Linked DNA regions of Homo sapiens: all the other regions are linked to region 2. The links are contacts of gene promoters, found by promoter capture Hi-C in blood cells and fetal thymus (Javierre and others, 2016). All regions are on one chromosome and are shown on one strand. The core of a region is centred on a gene start or on the middle of the fragment in contact, and the rest is flanking DNA. Distances in the headings are between cores, read along the strand shown.

Region 1 (2,726 bases), core at 28-2,527, 260 kb after region 2:
GAAGCAGGATGAACTGAAACGGATTGCCAGAGAATTGGCAGAAGGTACGAGTGACACTGGCTCTTATAGATTGTCCCTCCCAGGTTTGTGCAGGGATAAGGAAAATGGAGGAGGACATTTAAGCAGAGCTAAGTAGATGCGGATTGTTTAAAAATGGGGAAGCTGGCCAGGCGTGGTGGCTCATGCCTGTATCCCAGCACTTTGGGAGGCCAAGGCGGGCAGATCACCTGAGGTTAGGAGTTCAAGACCAGCCTGACCAACATGGTGCAACCCTGTCTCTACAAAAATTAGCCGGGCATGGCCCGGTGCGGTGGCTCATGCCTGTAATCCTAGCACTTTGGGAGGCTGAGACAGGCAGATTGCCTGAGCTCTGGAGTTCGAGACCAGCCTGGGCAAGATGGTGAAACCCCATTTCTACTAAAATACAAAAAATCAGCCGGGCATGGTGGCAGGCACCTGTAATCCCAGCTACTCAGAAAGCTGAGGCATGAGAATTGCTTGAACCCGGGAGGCGGAGGTTGCAGTGAGCTGAGATCACGCCACTGCACTCCAGCCTGAGCAGCAAAGTGAAATTCTGTCTAAAAAAAATTAGCCAGGCATGATGGCGGGTGCATGTAATCCCAGCTACTCAGAAGGCTGAGGTGGGAGAATCGCTTTAACCTGGGATGCAGAGGTTGCAGTGAGCTGAGATTGCGCCATTGGGTGACAGAGCGAGACTCCGTCTCAAAACAAAAAAAAAAAAAAAAAAAATAACTGGGAAGCTGAAGTGGTCTTTTTAGGTTGCCTGAGTGGTAACATGTGCTTTTCTTCTAACCTTCCGGCCCAAGATGACAGCATATTAAAGTGAGTGACCCTGCGACCCACTCTTTGGACCAGCAGCGGATGAATAAAGCTTCCTGTGTTGTGTGATACTCCGGCTCCTCATTTGCTGTCGCTGGTTGTGGAATTCCTAGGTTGAAGTTCTGTCCACCTCCCAGTTCACGTGAGGTGGAAGACAGGGAGGGGGTTTCAAAAGAATCCACATTACCATTCACAGACCCAGAATGCATCATGTAAACACAGTGGGAAGGACAGATGCGCGCTGCCTGTTCTGTCTGGGGCATCCAGGTGGGGAGCCCCAAAGGCCGTCTGTAATGGAGTCAGTCAGCTGGGGGCCTCATGAGTACTGGGGTTGTCTTGATTCTGAGTTCTAGGCTGCTGCTCTCAGCAGCCCAGACCCCTGGATGGGGAGGGGTAGGCACTGACTGACGCCCTTACAGTTGGGAAGCTGGGTCCTCCTCCACAATAACCCCTCGCCCCAACCTGCCATTTCACAAATCCTCCCTTTGATCCCAGGAAGTGGCCAGGTCAGACTTGGGACTAAAAGTCTGGTGATGTGACCTCCTGAGCACAGGGCCTGAGTGCTGTTTGAGTTGTGCAGGGAGGTGGTCTTGTGGTGCCTGAGCCACTTCCCTCCCCAGCAGGCTTCCTGGGCTTCTCGCCCCTCCTGGCTGTGAGCTTGCCAACAACCCAAACCCTTGGCCTGGTGGTTTGCAATGGACAGATTGAATTTGCTACTTCCCAGTTATGTGCCTTGAGCAAATCTAGGCTTGGAGCCCCAGTTTGTAAAATGAGTTCGTTTGCAAATATAAGGCCAAAGGGAGAAGCAGCCTATAAGCTTTTCAGGACATTTGGTTAAGGTGAGCTTTGAGTGAGCAAGATACTTTCACATCCTGTCCTGGCGTCCAGAGGGGCTGTTTGCAGGATCCCTCAGAACCTCTTAAGAGCCCCTCATCCCAGACCCAGGCTCTGGATACCAGGGGTCTCTGACCAGTGAGATGAAAAGGCTGGGCACGGTGGTTCACACCTGTAATCCCAGCACTTTGGGAGGCCAAGGTGGGCAGATCACTTGAGGTCAGGAGTTCAAGACCAGCCTGGCCAACATGGCGAAACCTTGTCTTTACTAAAAATACAAAAATTAGCTGGTTGTGGTGATGGGTGCCTGTAATCCCAGCTACTCAGGAGGCTGAGGCAGGAGAATTGCTTGAACCCGGAAGGTGGAGGTTGCATTGAGCCAAGATCACACCACTCCACTCCAGGCTGGGTGACAGAGTGAGACTGTCTCAAGCAAAAAACCCAGCACCCCCTTCCTGCAGCCCCATGGCTGTGCTGGGCATGTCTGCTGCTCTCCCACGCCCACCCCAATGAGCCCATCTAGTTAAGCGTCATCTAGTGTTGGGAGCAAATGCCTTGGAGCTCACATCATGAGTTGAACATCCTGAATTTAACATAATACCGATTTCAACTGGGAAGTCCGTTTCTTTGCCTCTGTCCTTCACTCCAGGCTCACCAATATTTAATCATGGGGGTGCACGGGCTTCGGCATCCAGCCCTGCACTGCCCTCCTGGTGCCGTCTGGGGCCATCAGAGCCACTCTACATGGTGTTTATTACAGATCATTTCCGCTCAGACCACTGAAGTTGGATGGCCGCTTTACTCATGGCCTTGACCTCTCTGGCAGAATTTTCTGATGGGTCAAATGTAGTGTGGCTTCCGCTATCATTTTACCACAGATAATGGGCAAGTAGTTTTCTGTTTATTTTATTCTGAATTCCTGAGCATGTGTGTTTTCCTAAACTGGATGAGAAACGGCCTGTGTCCATCTGTCTACCTGTGTACACATATGTACATGTGTGGCTGCAAATGTTCTCAGTGATTTCAGAGTTCATGGACCCTTTTCAAAGGTC
Region 2 (2,795 bases), core at 72-2,571:
GGCAAATGACTGTGTCTTACCTCAAGGGACCACTCTAGGTAATTGGTAACACACATCATTTTGGGTCCAATATTGACAGGTTTGATTTTTCCACAGAAGCTGGAAAACTAGGTTTTTAACATTTAGGCCTTTCAATTATTATTATTATTATTATTTATTTTTTGAGGCGGAGTCTCAGGCTAGGGTACAGTGGCGCCCGCCTCCCGGGTTCAAGCGATTCTCCTGCCTCAGCCTCCCGAGTAGCTGGGATTACAGGCACCCGCCACCACGCTCGGCTAATTTTTGTATTTTTAGTAGAGACGGGGTTTCACCATGTTGACCAGGCTGGTCTGGAACTCCTGACCTCAGGTGATCCGCCTGCCTCGGCCTCCCAAAGCACTGGGATTACAGGTGTAAGCCACCGCGCCTGGCATCAGTCTTTAAATGATAGCAACTAATTCACCTCCTGCTACCCACTCCCAACCCCCAAATACTGTGTGGGCCAAAAACTAAAAATGCATTGTCTGTGAGCCATTTCCTTATTATCCTATAAGGAAAGTCACCATTTCATCTCCAAATAGTTGGGCATTACGAACCCTTCCAAGTGGTTCATGAGGATTTGCTTTTGCCTTGGAAAATGTCAGGGTGAGAACGAACCTTGAGGGTCACAGGGCAGTCTCTGCAGTGTTGTGGTTGCCCAGGACGAAGGTTTTTCTAGCCCACGGCTCCCACTACTGGTCACTGCCCCAGGCCAGACCCTGGCCCTCTCCTCGGAAGACAGAGCAATGCAGCAGCGTTTCCCCTGCAAACTGCCTGCCTGGCTGCTGGGAGGGGGCTGCCAACCTTACTCACTAAGCGTCACAGGAAACTCCGACCTCCATGAGACGAAAACCAAGTATTTACTGAAAGCTTAACGCACGCTAACTCCTTGCTCCTTAGCCAACTGAGAGAAAAATTCGCGAACCCATTCGCAAACGCGGCGCTAACAGCAAACGGGAGGCTGACTCCACCCAGAGGATGGCGAAGCGCTTAAACCGGAGACACCTGAGAAGGAGCCTCCCACAAAACAGACCATGTGGGGAACGGTACCGGGAGCTGGACTGGGGCGCTGAACTACCTGGGCGGGAATCGCCTCGGCGACTGTTCCGCGCGCCTCCGCTTGAGTCAGCCCGGCCGGGAGCTTGACAGCCGGAAGTTCATCGCAAGCCCGGCGACGCCGCGCACGCGCTGTCTCCGTCAGACCTCCGCGCCTGCGCGCGCAGCCAGGAAGTGAGGCCGCGGCGGAGGGGACGGGGCTAGGCCGGGTCGCCGCCTGACGCGACGCGTCCTCACGGGCGCCTACGTCACGGCGTCGAGGCGGAAGATGGTGCACCTCCGGGCCGGCGGTTGCTGAGCTGACCCGGACGGCGAGGGAGCGGGAGCCCGAGCCCGACCACTCCGGCTGCCGCGGGGTGCGGCGCAGCCACCGCCATGTCGCTGCTGCAGTCGGCGCTCGACTTCTTGGCGGGTCCAGGCTCCCTGGGCGGTGCTTCCGGCCGCGACCAGAGTGACTTCGTGGGGCAGACGGTGGAACTGGGCGAGCTGCGGCTGCGGGTGCGGCGGGTCCTGGCCGAAGGTGAGGCCCCGGGTCGGCAGCGCGGGTGCGGCCGCGGAGTGTTGTCTCCGGGACGCTGGGGGCAGCGTCAGCCCGGAGTGGAAGGGCGTGGGTTAGGGCTGGGGAGGGTCCCAGCGGGATCGTGGGTCAGGGTCGGCCAGGGGAGGGTCTCTGCCGAGGGCGTGGGTCAGGGCCAGGCGAAGGTCATAGCGCGGGCGTAGGTGAGTGCCTGCTGGCGGTGATTGCGGAGGGCGAGGCTGGGACCGGGTCGGGGTACTTTCTTGTCATAAGAGTAGGGTCAAGTCGGAGCAAGGCCTGGGGCTTGGGGAACCCCCTCAGGGTGGGTGGGGGAAGATGTTACGGTGAGGTGGGGGATGGTGGCAGGCAGGGAGCTTGGGTGGGGACCCACAGCGGAGACTGAGGGACGGTGCCTAGAAGGCCGACAGCTGGAGTCAGGAGGTGAGCGGTGCAGGAGGTGGGTTTAAGCCTTGGCCTTTTGCCGGACATCTGGGGTTATTGAGCAGGCAGGGACAGGACTGGACTTTGGAGGTTAGGGCTGGTTCTTCTACAGTCCAGGGAACTTGAGAGTTGGTGGGTGCACACGTGTTGCAGGTAGTTGCGGTTGTAGCCTGGGGGGTGGGGGGGTTGGCCGAGGGTAGACTGGGCTGTGTCTCGTGATCCCCCTTCGTCTTTCAACACCTCAGTGTTTCTCTTCCCGGTGAACATCTACTCGTGTGATTCCGTGTGTAGTACAGGAAGCAGAGCCAGTGGTTGTGACCTATATAGAACTTGCAGAGTGGACAGGTCACTCGGCTTAAGTCCTCTTGAGTCAGTCTTGAGTCAGTTTTGTCTCTGCATGCTATTTCTAGCTCCCTGGATGTCCTCTCCGTTCACACGGAATCGATCACCAGTGCCAGTGGGTCCCATTCTCTCTTGTGGATTTTCCTTACATTTTTTGTCCAGTGGTGCCTGGAGGTGTGTCATATTTCACTGGCTGTGAAGTTTATGGGCTAAACACAGTTGACTTGGGTGCGGAAGCGTAACTCTATTCTGCTGTATTGGCACAGGGAGAGGGAGTGAAGCGACACAAAAGCCCTCACCCTCACCAGCTCCCTGGTACCTCTCAGGGCTGGAGGGTTAGCCTGTCCAGGTGCCTGCTCTGTGACCAGACAGGAGACTATCCCAGAATTCTGATTATCACAAAAGGCCTGCGGAGACATTT
Region 3 (2,712 bases), core at 145-2,644, 360 kb before region 2:
GAGAGCCCAGAGGATGGTGTCACGGGAGCCGAGTGATGGGAGCGTCTCGAGGCAGTGGGGTCCGCTGTGGACTGACCGCTTTCAGGAGCATCATCCTGTCCTCAAGAGGAACATCTGGGTGGAGTGTTGGGGGGCAAAAATCTGATTTAGGTAAAACAGGAAGAGAGACATGAAGGGGCAGAGACAGGGAGTAGTAGCTGGAGGAGGACGGGGGCAAGGAAGGGGTTTTCACGAGAGGAAGACTCAGAGCCACGTGCACACCAGGGAGCTGCACAGCCAATGGGAAAACCGACCAACAGAGAGAGAACCAAGTGCAGGAGCAGCCACAAGGCAAAGGGCACAGCACAGGTGAGGGGGGCACAGCGCAAGTGAGGGAGGCACAGGCACGGGTGAGGGGGGCACAGGCACGGGTGAGGAACGGCACAGGCATGGGTGAGGGGTACAGGTGAGGAATGGCATGGGTGACGGCTGCACAGGCACAGGTGAGGGGGGCACAGGTGCGGGTGGGGGGGCACAGGTGAGGGTAGCATAGGTGAGGTGCAGATGTAGGTGGGGGGCGCACGTGAAGGTGGTGCAGGAGCAGGTGAGGGAGGAGCAGGTGAGGGAGGAGCAGGTGAGGGGGGCACAGGCACAGGTGGGGGGCACAGGTGAGGGCAGCACAGGTGAGGGCAGTGCAGACGTGGGTGAGGGGGGCACAGGTGCGGGTGGGGGGGCACAGGTGAGGGTAGCATAGGTGAGGTGCAGATGTAGGTGGGGGGCGCACGTGAAGGTGGTGCAGGAGCAGGTGAGGGAGGAGCAGGTGAGGGAGGAGCAGGTGAGGGGGGCACAGGCACAGGTGGGGGGCACAGGTGAGGGCAGCACAGGTGAGGGCAGTGCAGACGTGGGTGAGGGGGGCACAGGTGCGGGCGAGGGTGGCACAGGTGTGGGTGAGGGGGTGCAGGTGAAGGCAGCACAGGTGAGGGCGGTGCAGACACAGGTGAAGGGGCAAAGGCGCAGGTGTGGTGGGCACCGGCATGGGTGAGGAGGGCACAGGCGTGGGTGAGGGGGCACAGGCGCTGGGGAGGGGGGCACAGGCGCGGGTGAGGGGGGCAGAGGCACGGGTGAGGGGGCACAGGCGCGGGTGAGGGGGTACAGGAGCGGGTGAGGGGGGTACAGGTGTGGGTGAGGGGGTATAGGAGCGGGTGAGGGGGTACAGGAGCGGGTGAGGGGGGTACAGGTACGGGTGATGGGGCTCATCCACCACGGGTGTGGGAGCAGGTGCAGGTCAGGCAGGGTCTGCGTGACAGGCATGGGCGAGCATGAAGTAGGAGGGAAAGTCTGAGAGAAGGACAGGTATGAAAGGCTCGCCTGGGAGGAGAGGAAGGAGGCTGCTCTGGGCCCCTCCCTCGAGTGGGGCAGCACTCAGGGTCCCGGTCCGGGTCCACAGTCAGCCATCAGCACAGCAGGTGCTTTCTTCTGCTCAGCCACATTCAGCTCAACAGTCACTAAATGTGGTATTAACACAGTGAATAATTCTTTTTGTTCAGGTTTTCAAAATAATGGCCCCTAGCTATAACGATTCTGAAATAACAGACCTAAAAATCATCAGCAGTTACCCCGGCAGGAAGTGTGCTTTGCGATGCCTGGGTCAGCACCCAGACATCCCCACTCGGCCTGAAGCCCCCAGAGGGTGGGGCTCGCAGCACAGCCTCTCTGCAGACGGGGCAGTCACATGCTACAGGCACCGGCCGGCCTTGTCTTCATTCTGGTGCCAATGTGTCTCCTTGGGCTTGCTTCCCATTCTGCTGACCCCTGTACCCACAGACCGAGTCACTGCCCAGCACCCAGTCTCACTGTGAGACCCTCCCTGCACAGCTCTGGGACACCCCCAGCCACATCACCCCAATGGTGCTGTGTGCCTGTGTGCCTACTGGGGTGAGAGCCGGCCAGGACTTCAACACGGTCCACAGAGCCTCACCCCAAAACTTAGCTCCGCCAACCAGCTCACAATATCGCATTCACTGGAGGAAGCTCATCCCCACCCCCGCCCCTGCCCCTGCCCCTGCCCCCGGCCCCACCCCCGTCCCCTGCCACTGTCCAACATCACCTCAACCTCATCAGCGTCTTTAAAGGATCTGAGATGTCTGTGTGTGCTTGTGCTGATGCCTCCCTCCCACCGGAGCGTAGACAGGGGCCTCACTTGTCTCCCCATCATGCTAGCCCAGGGCCTGACTGTGCAGGGCCTGACCGTACCTGGCCGATGGAGGCTCTCAGACCACTGCTGCGGAGGGGGGTATGGGAGAAGCTAAGTGCACCTGCAGCCCTGCTCTGCAGCCCGGCGGCGGTGCCTTGCTTAGGTCCCAGGGCCGCTCCAGGCCTCACGTCAGTACTGCCTCCAACCTAGCCCAGCCATTACGGTGAATCAGGCATTAAAAAGCACTTTCTTGACTTGAAATGTGTTAAAAAAATAATACTTAAAAAAACAAAAACAAAACCAACCCCCCAGCTAGCAGTGAATTCAAGTCTACATCCTTATCTCAGCCTTGCCCAACCAGCTGGAAAGGCCCAGGCCTGGGAGGGAAGACCTGTGCCAGCGCGGAGGCCGCGGAAGCCAGCCCAGGGCCAAACCACCAGCAAACGGTGGGAGAGGCGAGGGGAGTGGAGCTGGGAGCCACAAAGGGCAGACCATGGCTCTTCTGGGCAGAAGGAATTTCCACTGTGCTCTAGAGACCG

The links. Contacts are between HindIII fragments. The CHiCAGO score rates a contact against its expected background, and 5 or more counts as called.
Region 1: a fragment that was not itself captured here is called in contact with the fragment with the promoter of GAK in region 2 in 3 of 17 cell types (fetal thymus, naive CD4 T cells and total CD8 T cells); the score reaches 8.7 in fetal thymus.
Region 3: a fragment that was not itself captured here is called in contact with the fragment with the promoter of GAK in region 2 in 2 of 17 cell types (monocytes and M2 macrophages); the score reaches 6.2 in monocytes.

The regions. Positions count from the first base shown.
Region 1 is chr4:670,621-673,346 of GRCh38, reverse strand. ATP5ME (ATP synthase membrane subunit e) reads left to right here. Exons shown (of 4, transcript NM_007100.4): 3 at 1-44; 4 at 828-911. The coding sequence ends at 847. It overlaps PDE6B (phosphodiesterase 6B), which reads right to left. Exons shown (of 22, transcript NM_000283.4): 22 at 2,565-2,726. Among named protein-coding and RNA genes, the nearest start is that of ATP5ME, 2.3 kb to the left of the region's middle. The HindIII fragment of the contact is 765 bases long and covers 895-1,659 here.
Region 2 is chr4:930,842-933,636 of GRCh38, reverse strand. It overlaps GAK (cyclin G associated kinase), which reads left to right and starts at 1,321. Exons shown (of 28, transcript NM_005255.4): 1 at 1,321-1,594. The coding sequence starts at 1,450. It overlaps TMEM175 (transmembrane protein 175), which reads right to left and starts at 1,177. Exons shown (of 11, transcript NM_032326.4): 1 at 1,097-1,177. RefSeq lists an enhancer at 736-1,055 and a silencer at 1,216-1,535. The HindIII fragment of the contact is 2,323 bases long and covers 891-2,795 here.
Region 3 is chr4:1,294,146-1,296,857 of GRCh38, reverse strand. All of the region lies in intron 1 of MAEA (macrophage erythroblast attacher, E3 ubiquitin ligase), which reads right to left. Among named protein-coding and RNA genes, the nearest start is that of MAEA, 5.6 kb to the right of the region's middle. RefSeq lists an enhancer at 1,077-2,040. The HindIII fragment of the contact is 8,664 bases long and covers 1-2,712 here.